Linked DNA regions of Homo sapiens: region 2 is linked to region 1. The links are contacts of gene promoters, found by promoter capture Hi-C in human tissues and cell types (Jung and others, 2019). All regions are on one chromosome and are shown on one strand. Each heading gives the region's core, a stretch centred on a gene start or on the middle of the fragment in contact. The rest is flanking DNA. Distances are from core to core; before and after follow the strand shown.

Region 1 (6,730 bases), core at 3,093-5,592:
TTTAGCCTTTGACTCAAGATGTCAGATATAAACTGTTGGCAAAATTCAGCTGAATATTGTCTTCTAGTAAACCTAAGCTGATTCCTAAGTTGGGTACAAGCGTGATCGGGTGTAAGCCAGCCTCAGCTTTTACAAAGTGAAATGCATATTCTTTTATTAGAAATTACTTTCATGTCCCTGCCTTCTCCTTATAAACAAAGGGCATCATATTGATTTTTTACCCGGGGAACCATCACCTGGGCTGCAGCCTCAGGACGAACCTGTGCCTTCCCTCTGTCTCAATTTCCTGCTTTGGGAAATAGGAGCCACAAGCCACAAACTCCATCCACCGCGCCACAGGAGCGAGGTCCAACGCAACGGTCCCTAGGGCCTGCCTCCAACCCAGCCTCAGTTTCCTATCTGTCACATCGTTCTATGATCTCGAAATGACTATAACCCCTTTCTTAGCCCCAAACCAGCCGGAAGCGACATCTTCCGGTTGCTACAGGTTACGGCGGTTGCTATGGGCTACGGCGCCTGCGCAGAAACACCGCCAAGCGACTCAGCAACTTCTAGAGCGCATGCGTTTCGCCCACCCAGGCCCGGGCGCGGTTAGGGGTGACTCCCACGATCCCTAGCGGCTGCAGAGTGGAACATGGCGGCCTCCTTGCCGCTTGCGTTACCAGAGTCCACCCGGCCTCGTGCTTTCTCCGGGCGCCCGTAGCTGGCGCCGGCATCCACAAAAATAGATCAGGTAAAGCAGCAGAGTAAGGCATAGGAAGACTTGGTCGGGCTCCGCGGCCCCTCTTTACCGGATTGGAGGCTGCGCGGGTGAAATCGAGCTTTAAACTCCCCTGGCCTCGGAACACCATTTGTAGCCTCTGAAGGAGGAGGACTTATAAGATTCTGTACTAAGGCAGCCGTGGGAAGGGAGGAGAACCAGGTCGGCCCGCGCGCTCCCGGCTGCTTTTGCTCTCCCTTTGGTTTCGAAAGCGTCAAGTCCCAAGGTATTTCCTACCAATTGTGACGTCACCCTTCCTCCCCCGTTTCTCACCCGTTTCTTGTCTGGCCGTGACTTCTGACCCAGTGTTGAGCTAAAAATGCCCCGCCCCACCCTACGCAGATTCACCCCGCGTCCCACCCACCAGTGACTGAGTGACTGGGCTTCTGCTGCCTAGGGAAGGGTTCTTGGCTTGGCCGGGCAAATCAATTCCCACAGCAAAATCAGACCGAAAGCCTGTTATGAGGGACTCAGGCAGTTGGATGTGGCGTATAGGAGGAAGGCTAGGGCAATCAGGAAGGTCTCCTGGAGGAAGGAAGAAGACCCTGACTGGGCCGTGTAGGATGGATGTTCAAGTGGGAAGAGAGTGTGCTATTCCAGGGACAGGGAGGCCCAGGCCTGAGAGTCCAGTTGCCTTCTGGATCCCGTTTACCTCGCAGATTATCCAAACTGGACTCGTGATTTTCCCCAGCTGTGCCGCGCCTCCCCAGCGGTCTCACTGAATCCACCCATGGGCTATGTCAGAAATCTGGGAGTTATCCTCAGCTCCTCCCTTTCCCTTCTGAAGCCATACCTACTTCTTGCCCTCAAATCTCTGTGACCTGACTTCTGGTAATGTTTCCATTCTCACCATCTCATTCTTCTCCACACTTATCATGAAGTTCATTTATTCCAGACTACTTTAGGTTGAGTCCTAAAAGTCAGCCTGCTAGTTCATGCCTCCATGCTTTTGCAGGTGCTATTCCCTCTGTCTTAAGAGTCATTCATGCCTTCTCTCTTTTCCTTGTTGTGAACTCTTTTTCCTCCAATTTAAAGCTTTCCCCCACCTGTACGCATGGAGATTGGCAAGCCTCCCTTCTCTAGACGACAGCATTTCTTGTATTTGCCTCTTCATCATATATTCCACAAGTGTTTGTTAATCACCTACTATGAGCAAGGCCTTCTGCATTTCCTAGGTTGGATTTCCACTGTGCTGTGTTTGTTTGCTCATCTCCCTCACTGGTCAGGAAATGTCACTCATTTGTTAACCCCCAGTGCTGAGCACAGTGCCTGGCACACAACAGGCATCCCATTACTATTTCTGAAAGGAGTGGAAAAGCAGGCACAGAGAGAAGAGAAAGCCTGATATCCTAAATATACAGTCTTTCTTCCCATGCCTGTCTGTGTTTGCAGTCAATAAGTAGAAAGTCTTTCGAAGAATAACCTGGGCCTGGAAAAGGAGAGAAACCATGGCCCTAACGAGTTAGGTTGAAAGGCTGCCTGGCTCCTATAATCTGACAGTGGAAGTTTGCTCAGTTCTGTGCTGATGGCTTCCCACAAGTAATTGGTTCCTCCGAAAGGAAAAGAACCCACCTAACCCCTCTCTCTCAGAGGAATTTTCCTCTCCCACAGCCCTTTCCAGATTTCCATCCCTGAGCTTCTGTACTTTTTGATATAAGCAATAACAACACCCACAACAAACCAATAGCTGGGCTTCGGAGATCAGCAGGGCTGACAAGGGGACTTCAGCCCCCATCTTTGAACTTAGAGTGAGAACACTCTTTGGAACACTTTGTTCCAAAGAGCTGAAGTGATGGAACTCCCACTCGTTCCTGTGGACAGCTCATCCGTCCTTTACAAGACAGTGCGCGGGAGGGAAGCGTGGGTTAGAGTGTCAGAGGAATAGCTCCTGGAAGGCCAAATTAGCCCAGGGATGTGGTGAGTCGGAATAGAAGAAGCTGTTGCTAGGCCACCAGCATGTACCCCCACTCCTCCTCTCAGTGCTGCACTGCCTGCTGGGGAAAAGCTGTGACTTCCTCAAGCAGACACGCCTGAACCCAGGCCCAGGCAGGGCAGGGTTCAGACTGACTGCTTCTGACTTGTGAGAGCACAGCATAGGCAAATCCCCTTTGAATGTCATTTCTTCCTTTGTAATCTGGATAACAATAGTTGCATCACAGTTGTCTGGAGACTGAAAGATTTTTAAAAAGAGTTAAGGTGTATATGGAAAGCATTTAGCACAGCACCTAGCACATAATAGGCATTCAGTAAAAGTTAGCTGTTTATTCATTGTTTCAGCGCTTACTTACTCAGCACCTGCTAAGTCTGAGTACTGTTCTAGGTATCAGCAGTGAAGGAAAGAAGACTTGGTCCCCAAATGTACTTTCTTTGGGGGAAGAGCTGGATAAATAGGCTTTGTGACTCTGTGTGCTGTGTTAGATGGTGGGAGGCACTGGAGAGAAAGAGCAGGACGGAGGGTCATGTCAGGAGGTTCAGAAGCCTTGCTGGCTGGGTGGGGTGACATTTGAGGAAAGGCCTAATGGGGTGGGCACGGCCATTGCAGAGCCTCTCAGGTGGGAGTTGGTGTTGTGTTTAGAGGACATCTGCCAGTGAGAAGCCAGTTGTGCAGAGAGGGAGTAAGGAGGAGTAGTGGGGAGGAAGCTGGAGAAGTGAGAGGGGCCAGATCCTGGAGGGCCTGGAGGTCATGGTGAGGACTTTGGCATTTACTGTAGTGAGATGGGAGCCACTGGGGGATTTGTAGCAGCAGAGTGCCAAGGTCCAAGGGTTATTTTGACAGGCCTCCTCTGGCTGATGTTTGGAGGATGGGCTACAGGGCAGGAGTGGGAGCAGGAGCCCAGGTGGGAAGTGATGGTGGTGGAATTGTCATGAGCTTGGGCCACTGTACGTGAAGCTGCCTGTCCAGTGCTCGCCCAGCCCATACCAGGCTCGTTTTCTGCCCCATTTTCTGAGACCCTGCTGAGGAGGGCATGCACTGGCTCCTGTGTCCAGTATGTCCTTCCATTCTCCTGACTTTGTGGGCTATTTTCAGTCTCCAGATGAAGAAACCAGTTCTTAGAAAGGTGAAGCCCCTGGCGCAGTTCCCCAGCAGGTGTTTCAGTGCTGTGGCAGGAAGGTTTTTTGATAGAAACAGCCTCAGGCCAGAGAAGTCGGCCTGAGCTGTGGATTCCTTGGGAGAAATGGGCTTTTTGCCTGCCTGCAGCCTCTGGTTTCGGCTGGAATTGGCCTTTCAAGGAGCAAAGTGTGGATCTCATCTCCTTGAGCACAGTCATGGGCAGTCAGAAGGCATCGGGGGCCCTCATGATGTCTGGGTGAAGAAAATCACTCAGCCCTTAATCAAACTTGGTCCAGGGCTGGGATCAGAAGAAGAAACCCCACTTCACACTTGACTGCTTGGAGTGAAGCACTTCGAAAGGAAGCTGCCTGGGAAGTCCCAGAAGGGAAGGGGCAGGGAGGGAAGGGGACAGGGTGAGAGCAGGTCTCACTCATCCCAATCCCAGCCAGGATTGGGTCAGGGCCCCCAGCGCTTACCTGCAGGCAAGGTGCTGCTCCACGACCTTCTCCAGCTGCTGCCGCTGCTGAATCTGTTTCCCTCCCTGAAACGTAGCCCTGTCTCTCAGCTGGCTTCCTGATCTGGGAAGGGTGGTGCCTGTCCCCTGTTCAGCTGACTCACCTTGGACTGGGATGGGCACAGGTGAGGGCTGTGGCTGGGTAAACAAGGCAGGTTGCCAGCCCAGAGGAGGCCTTTGGCCTTAGTCTGGATTTGGAGGTGGGATTAAGGCCCTCACAGCTGCTGTTCAGACGGTTATGAACCAAGACTTCTTGGCCTTTTCTTAAATAGCTCTAAATTTGGGTTGGACACCTAGTCCTGCTGATCGAGGCAGTTGGCTAGAGGGCGGTTTGTGATAGGTATCTAGGGGTCTAGGCCAGGATATTAAAAAGTGGTCATATCCTGTGACCCAGCATTTCTTCTAGGAATTTGTTACAGTGGAGTCACAGGGCCCATCCATCACTGCTGCTTCTAGTAAGGAAAATGTAGAAATCCCAAATGCCCATCTCTGTGGTCTGCTTGAATAAATCATTGTCTGTGGAAGATCACAGAGCTATTAAAGTCACTTAAGGAAGAAGGTATGAGGAAACATTTCTGAGATTCTAGTGAGATGTTGAAAAATCAATATTGTGAATCTCTTCTTGCATTTTGTTTTCATTTTTTGTAAAGTGGATGTGCGTTGAAAGCAGTCTAGGAGGACATACGCTAAAATGCTGAGTATCTCTGAATGGCAGCATTGAGGGTGAGGTTTTCAGTTTGTACTTTTGTGTGTTCCAAGGTGGTTTTTTTTTTTTTAAGTTAGCTTTTGCTCTGAATGCTCATGACTTTTGTAAGGGGGAAGCAATTAAGTTTGATTATTTTAATGGGAATTTAGAGTGGTTGTCTCTTGGGAGCAGACCTAAGGAGCTGTGTGCTGAGGTGGAGATTTTTTTTTTTATGGCACATTTTTGGTGTCTTAAATTTTGAAAAGTTTAAATGTACTACTTATTCCAAAAATAATTATATAAATTTGAACAGAAAAGGAGGAAGAATTTAGTTTAGATCCTGGTGGGTTTGGTTGGGTGAGGGTGCCTGTCGCACTGGGTGCCTGGGGAGGGACGAGGGACTCGTGTGCTGGGCAGTCCCATGAGGATTGACGCTGTACACACTCAGGGTGTGTCAGTATCTGGGCTGCTTCCTGGGCCAGGCAGGCCTACGTCACAGTTCCCATGACCCACCTGGCAGAGTTGCACTAGCCTTGGGTGTCAGATCTTGTGCCTGCCAATGAAGAGCTTACAGCCCAGAGTCCCACACAGGAAACACACAATAGGAATAATAACAAGAAAGACATTTGCCACTAATTCAGCACTTACTCCCAGAGAGCACAGAGATTCTACCCCTGGCACTTTAAAGGCATTATCTCAATGGCTTCTCATGCCATCCCTGCAGAGTAGGTGTGACTCACACCATTCCTCCAGGTGGGGACACTGAGGCACAGAGGCAAAGTTTCTCTCTCAAGTTAGCTGGAAAGTGGGCCAAGTTCATGTCTTCTCTTCTATGGGACATACTGTTTCAGAAAGCTGAGGTGTGGGGCAACCTCAGAGTAAGCTGTGTGGGCCTGAAGCTGAGGTAACGTGGGTGATGGACCCACCTTAGGTCAGGTGTCCAAGGCCAAAGCAAAGTGGAAAATAGAGATCCTAACTAAACCAAGCCACTCCTCCCCCACCTCACTTCATTCAGTCATGACCTGAAAGGGCCTTTATAGAAGAGGGAGGAGGAAGCAGGCCCTTCCAGGTAAGGGGCTTGCCTGTGGTCCCAGCATGTCAGCATGGAGCCCAGGTCCCCTAACTCCCACCTATTTAATACCTACAGGGACTCTCTTTCTATTCCCTCTTTGGATAGTTGCCACCCATCACTGACTTCCAGCCACCTGGAAATATCTTTCATTGGGCATGCCCTTGCTCGAACTCTTCAGTGGCTCCCTCCTGCTTCAGGGTCTGGGCTAAACTCCCAGGGCTGACATGGAGACCTCCACAGCCCACTCCCTTTATTACCTCCTCAGCACTCCCCCAGCACCTCTGCCTCAGCTGGACTGGGAGCCCCACCATTCCTGCCCCACTGCACACCCACTTCCTACCTGCCCTGACTCCATACCTTTGCCTGTCCTGCTGCTGCCCCTGGAACACCTTCTCCTGCCCCCACCCACCTAGCCACATCCACCACTGAGCTCCTCCAGGAAGCCTCTGGGATCCCCCACATCCATGTGGCCTCTCCCGCCTCTGACTCTGGATCAGACGCTCCTGTTCCATTCTTTAATAATCATCATCTTGTACTCATGTGTACCTTTTAGGCTACTAGTTAGACCCTAAGTTCCCTGAGGGCAGGGCCAAGTTATTAGCTCTACAGTGGTCATTCTTTTGAGACAGCATTTCGCTCTGTCACCC
Region 2 (6,730 bases), core at 3,310-5,809, 790 kb before region 1:
TAGTCAAAATCCATGCAGCAGGTTGAGAAAACTATTTCACAATTCCTCTTATTTCAAGAGATACGCAATCACCTTTTGCAGCTTTCAAGTATAGACCAGATGTACTAACAGGCAACCATTTCGTCTGGAAGATCATCTATTTGGAGGTCACTGACACAAAAAAACAAAAACAACAAAGACAAAACAAGCCTCCTTACCCTAGCTCAGAAGGATAAGCCAAAAGAAAACAGGTTAACGGTAAAAATGTATGATTAAATGAAGTTATTGTTTTTTTTCCTCCACTTCATATTGATTCTCTTTTCCCATGTCAATTTAAGGTGGTAACCATGGCCAACAACATTCTCTCTCACCTATCATACTAATGCCATATAAGTAGTAGTGTTTTTGTTTTTTCAAGTGGGGAAATATATACAGCTCAAAAAAACAAAAAAATATCTAGCAACTAACTCCTTGGCAGTTCCCTTGACTCTCTGACCTTTAAGTCCCAAGGTTCTAAGTATACAATGAATAAGAAAACTACCTGTTCAAACCCAACAGAATATGTTTTTTTCTGGTTTGATTAAGGCTTCGAATTTGGAACATAAATACTCTCAGTAATACTTAGTAATTCATGAAGTTACTGCTTGTGTAAACTTGCAGAATATTTAACTTTAGGAGATTATAAATCCTAACATGCCCCTAGGGGCCTTCTGCTTTTATTCCTACATACAAAACATACAACATGTTTGTTTTTAAAAACAATGCACATAGGCCAGGTGTGGTGGCACACACCTGTAGTCCCAGCTACTTGGGAGGCTGAGGCAGAAGCATCACTTGAACCCAGGAGGCAGAGGTTGCAATGAGCCGAGATCATGTCACTGCACTCCAGCCTGGGTGACAGAGCGAGACGCTGTCTCAAAATAAATACATACATACATACAAAAAAATTAAACCAATACACGGAAGTATTACTTCCATAAAACAAACCAGGAAGTACAGTAAAACAGAAAACATTAGCATTTGGGCCTTTTGTGTGAATTACATTTCTCCACCTTCAACCCAGAAAAGGGATCTGAGTGTCAATGTGACATAAATGACATAGCAACAGTGTGAGGTCTCCCAATGAAGGGAGGTATTAGAAGAAAATCCAAGCAGTTTGATTTGGATTAATAGTTCTACCCCAAACACCTAAGAGAAATCGGAATTCCAGTACTGTCTCTTACAATATAGTCATCATCTATACACCTTTTTACCACGCCATATAAGCAAAATAAAGTCACAATGTGAAACTTTACTCCACTGGCTATTACCCTCTGGAACCAAAAGATGGAAAACTTCATTTGGGATATACAGTAATCTAAAGAAAAATTCAGCACTTATGAATGTAATAACTACTGTTACCATTTGAATGCCTCTTACAAACCAGGCACAGTATCAGATGCATATTCTGATTTTAGAAATAAACAGATTCAGAGGTTAAATAATCTGCCAAAAACAACAGGATTACTAAGTGGTGGAAGCCAGATCTGTTTAGGATCCAAAGCCTAAATAGGTTCTTTTCACTAAATTTAATACTATTTCCTTAGTTCTCCAAACTGATTTATTAACAGCCTATCCAAAACACTATAATAAAATGAACTGCTTTAAATTTGGAGGCAAGGTAGGGGTGGGATACTGAGTTTCAATAATCAGGTTTCTTCATTATTCTTTTACCTGAATGGGCTGGCCACCAGGCCACAATTGTATAAAAATCAGATTTTAAATGATGGAAAAGCTTTTCTGTGTGGCTACTGAAGGGAGAAAGGAAGACAACTGAGACATGCCCCACCTTGCTGGCTGGGGGCTGGTGACATCTGTGGGCCTCAGTGTTGGACTCCAGATGCAACAAAGCCTAAAGTTTTGAATATGTATGAAGGTCAATGTGATGTTTTCCAAAAACAGTCATAAAAGATGGCTGTGAAAAACCCCCTAGTATAACAACTGTATGTAACAAGAGCATATAGGTAGCTGCAGATGAATGCTCAGGTCCTTAGCTGTGGTGTTTAAAAATTCTTCAGACCAGGCTGGGTGCAGTGGCTCACACCTGCAATCCCAGCACTTTGGGAGGCCGAGATGGGTGGATTGCCTGAGCTCAGGTGTTAGAGACCAGCCTGGGAAACACAGTGAAACCCCATCTCTACTAAAATACAAAAAAAAAAAAAAGCCAGGCGTGGCAGCGTGCGCCTGTAGTCCCAGCTACTTGGGAGGCTGAGGCAGGAGAATTGCTTGAACCCGGGAGGTGGAGGTTGCAGTGAGCCAAGGTCGTGCCACTGCACTCCAGCCTGGCAACAGAGTGAGATGCTATCTCCCAAAAAAAAAAAAAAAAAAAAAAAAAAAAAAAATTTCTTCGGACCAGTGTGGTGGCTCATGAGTGTAATCTCAGCACTTTGGGAGGCTGAGTTAAGAGGACTGCTTGAGCCCAGGAGTTTGAGACCAGCCTGGGCAACATGGTGAGACCTTGTCTCTACAAAAAAAATTAACAACTACCCACAAAGAAAACCCTAGCTCAAGATGGCTTCACTGGAAGGAAAAATGAACTGGTCAGGAAGACAGACAAATAGAAGCAAATAATGAAAGCATTTTATTTGACATTGATAACCTTCTCACAATAAATTATGTGGCAAAATACATGCTTGAATACTTAATTGCTAGGCAATAGTCTATTTTCATTTTTTCACAAAAGGTAGACAACTCCAAAGCAGATGGCCATTTGTAGCCATTCTATATAATCATAAATACACAAAACACTGGCCGGGCGCGGTGGCTCACGCCTGTAACCCCAGCACTTTGGGAGGCTGAGGCGGGTGGATCACCTGAGGTCAGGAGTTTGAGGCCAGCGTGGCCAACATGGCGACACCCCGCCTCTACTAAAAATACAAAAATTAGCCCGGTGGGGTGGCATGCACCTGTAATCCCAGTTACTTAGGAGGCTGAGAGAGGAGAATCACTTGAACCCAGGAGGCAGAGATTGCGCCACTGCACTCCAGCTTGGGCGACAGAGCAAGACTCCATCTCAAAAAAAAAAAAAAAAAAAGTTTTAAAGTGCCGATAAATACAAGTTCCTGGTCTGCCTACAGTTTATCACTTAATAATACAAAGCAAACAAGAAAGCAAGTTAGTGGATTACCTGAGAGAGCAAGACATAGAGAAGATGTTAATGCAGGGAGCTGGCCTTCTCCAAACATATCCCTAACACACAATATTCAAGCAATTCCCAAACTGTGATCAGAGAACCACTGGGAGTAAGACCTCTGATCTATATTTACAAGTCTATAGGTGAGCAAAGGTAGACCTTTTCCTGAGTCTGAGATGGGAATATTACCTTCTCTATCTAGAAGCAAAAGAATCCTAGACTCACCAGGACTAGGTAATAGACACTGTACACGAGTAATTGAGGTAATCTACACTGGGCGTGACTTACATACTGATCCACCCCTAGGCAGCAATTCATACCTCACCCACCCAACAGGCTACATTAGAAACAAGGAAGTACAGGTCAAAAGTCTCATTAAAAAAATAAGAACTCTTGGCAGCAGAAAATGAAAATAAAGAATGAAGAATGACAGCACTGGCAATAAACACATTCTTTTCTCCGAAAGGGAAGGGAAAGAACTAATGTTGGGCACCCACATGCCAGACATTTTATCAATTTTCTCCTTTAATCCTCAATAATCCTGAGATAATACTAGCTAGTACTCTAGTTATTAATCCTCACAAAAATCCTGAGGTAGGTACTACTAATTCCCATGTTACAGGTGAAGAAACCAAAAGTTAGTAAGTTGCCCAAGGTAGTTGTTATCCGAACTGTAGAGACAAGAACTCCCAGACTTGAAGAGGTTAAGTAAACTTCCCCAAACTCAAAGTGGGAGTTCTTTCCCACTAACCTATTGCCTTCCCCTCCCTACCCGCAATCTCAATTAATTCTCTATTCTACCCCCTTCTCATTTCTGCAGCTGTTTCAAAAACTACACCTAAGATACAAAGCAAATAGGAGTTATTATAAGAAAACACCTCCAAAATCTACTAAGTTGTGGTATGATATGCCTGTTATCAGAAAACGTCACTCAATTTTGAGCTTGGAGGGCAGTGACAGTTTGGAGATCTTTAGCACAACGCCTGCCAGAAACGTGGCAGGCGCTCAGGATCTGCTGAATGAACAACATCTTCTGAGTGGTTATGAATTCAATAACCCAAAATGACCATCTCGTATTTCTGGATATGACATGATACCATTTTTTGGAAAATAATTTACCCATTCATTTTAAACAGGGTAGCTTTCTTAAAATTTATAGAACATTGATGAGATAGCTAAACTGAGAAATGCCCATTAAAGCATTAGTCATAACTTCAGGAAAATTTCAAATGTTCACTTTTCCAAGCAAATTAAAATGTTTCAGCTAATAAAAACCTGTCAGAAAAACCCACAAGACAAGAAAGTATAAAAAGAAAAGAGCAGCCAATATAAGGGCATTTAAGATGTCACACATAAAAAATTATAAAACATTAATCTAACTTGTACCTTGGTATTTAACCCTAAAACTGTCACCTCAGATAACACAATATTTTCTATGCAAGAAAACATTATCACCACGAATGTAAAGAAGCTTGCCGACCATAGCAACTGTTGCTACGTAGGGTTTTTTAATGTCTAAGACTGAAAGACAGAATTTGTAGAAACCAGTTAAAATGCCACTCTTAGCAGTATCTTGTGATACTGTGAATGCTTTCACCTTAAACTTTTTAAAAGACTCAATCTTTGACTTCTACATGTGAAAAAAAAAAAGTACATCTGGGAGCACTCAACGTAAGAAAACTACCAATTGTCTATAACCCAATGAAAATACATCCTTTGTTACAATGACAGCAGCTACTTTTCCTTAATAATCCTAGAGGAATTTCTTCATTTGAAAAGCTGGCTGGCCTAGATTTCTCTATAAACTAAATGACATGCTACTTTCGAAATTATCCATTTCAGAAGTTCAAAGAAATTCAGGTATAAGAACACATTAATACTCTCATGAAACAAACCTTATCCAGGTTACCCACGAATTGTGACAGATCAAAACCCAGTTTCTCATTTCAAATCAAGTATCACATTATTTATTACCTTAAAATACTAAGCCCTTACCTAATTCAATGGCAAATCATATTGGTTTTCAGTTTCTGAACTTGTACAAATCATACTGTAATATTTATGCAAAAGTTGTCATATAGTTGAATATTATAGACAGTTAACATCTTTTTTTTTTTTTTTTGAGACGGAGTCTTGCTCTGTCCCCCAGGCTGGAGTGCAGTGGCGTGATCTTGACTCACTGCAACCAACCTCCGTCTCCCAGGTTCAAGTGATTCTCAGCCTCCTGAGTAGCTGGGACCACAGGCACGCACCTCCACACTCAGCTAATTTTAGTAGAGATGGGGTTTTACCATGTTGGCCAGGCTGGTCTTGTCCTGACCTCAAGTCATCTGCCCACCTCGGCCTCTCAAAGAACTGGGATTACAGGTGTGAGCCACCATGCCCGGCCAACAGTAGAAAAGGGTACTCAGGGAACATAGTTCAAAAGTCATGATTCTCTATTGGCTGGACCAGGATTCTAGACTAGCTCTAGGGCTGAGATATCTTAGTAGACCAGTTAACATTCATGTGGCCCAATTTCCCTTACTCTAAACCCAAAGTCAAACATAACCTCTAAAGTCTTTCATACCCTGAAATGCTAATCTTGTAATCATCTTTCTATTCAGGTAATAACTCAAAAGAAATGGTCTCACTTCCTTCATCCTCTGACTAAAGTTTAGTTAGTCCATATTTTATGAATCCAATTAATAGGATACTTTAAAGAACAAAAAGAAAAGACTTTTCTTAAAAGCTAGAAACTCCATTCTGTAGTGATGATTCCCAGATCTGACTCTTAAACTCAACAACCTCAACAGACAATGACAGGGAGAAAAGATCTTACAAGTTTGAGCTGAGCTGGGGTGGGGTGGGAGGTGTGAGAGAACAGAGAGACAGTTACAAATTCACAAAAATGTATCACCCATTTCCATCTCCTCTAAAAAAATATGAAATAAGCCTTAAAAGGCTGTCATAGAAACCCATTATTAAGCCAATAAAAACTAATGAAGAAATTATGTCATTTATCCAAGATATGGAAGAACCACCTATTTACAGAAATCCTACCAATGTCCTAGACCTTCAGAAACTACATCTCACTAAGCTGACCATCAAGCCCCTTCAAACTGCATCTAAGGACAATAATAATATTCAAACATCAAGAAACAGGCACAGGTTCCACTCAACACCATTATTCCGTGGAGTCTTCCAGGACTAAATTGTTTTATAGAATCTTTGCTATCTTTGTTCTCTAGAAAATGATATCCCAAAGACTCTAAAATAAAACCAGCAAAACCCCTGTATTTGTTTTCCATTGTGTCATAACAAATTATCACAAACAAAACAACACAAATGGATTATCTTACAGAAGTCAGTGGGCTTGACTGGGTCTCACAAGGGCTAAATGAGGGTATCCAGTGGGTGGGTTCCCTGCTGGAAACTCTGGGGAAAATTTGCTTCCACATTCATTCAAGCTATTGGCTGAATTTAGTTCCTTGCAGCTGTAGGACTGAGTTCCCACTTCCTTGCTGGTTGTCAGCTGGGACTGGCCTTTCCTACTAGAGGCTGCCTGCATTCCCCGTCTCACACTTTCAATCTGGTCCC

The links. The method cuts DNA at HindIII sites, captures the fragments that hold promoters and counts their contacts. A contact is called where the count stands out against the background at its distance.
Region 2: a contact is called between a fragment that was not itself captured here and the fragment with the promoter of SDCBP2 in region 1, in 1 of the 25 tissues and cell types used here (adrenal gland).

The regions. Positions count from the first base shown.
Region 1 is chr20:1,324,797-1,331,526 of GRCh38, forward strand. It overlaps SDCBP2 (syndecan binding protein 2), which reads right to left and starts at 4,343. Exons shown (of 9, transcript NM_080489.5): 1 at 4,289-4,343. All of the region lies in intron 2 of FKBP1A-SDCBP2 (FKBP1A-SDCBP2 readthrough (NMD candidate)), which reads right to left. It overlaps SDCBP2-AS1 (SDCBP2 antisense RNA 1), which reads left to right and starts at 547. Exons shown (of 3, transcript NR_040049.1): 1 at 547-733. RefSeq lists enhancers at 609-838, 829-1,123. The HindIII fragment of the contact is 26,056 bases long and covers 1-6,730 here.
Region 2 is chr20:532,707-539,436 of GRCh38, forward strand. The region is part of intron 1 of CSNK2A1 (casein kinase 2 alpha 1); the gene reads right to left. Among named protein-coding and RNA genes, the nearest start is that of CSNK2A1, 7.7 kb to the right of the region's middle. RefSeq lists an enhancer at 1,976-2,025. The HindIII fragment of the contact is 8,277 bases long and covers 422-6,730 here.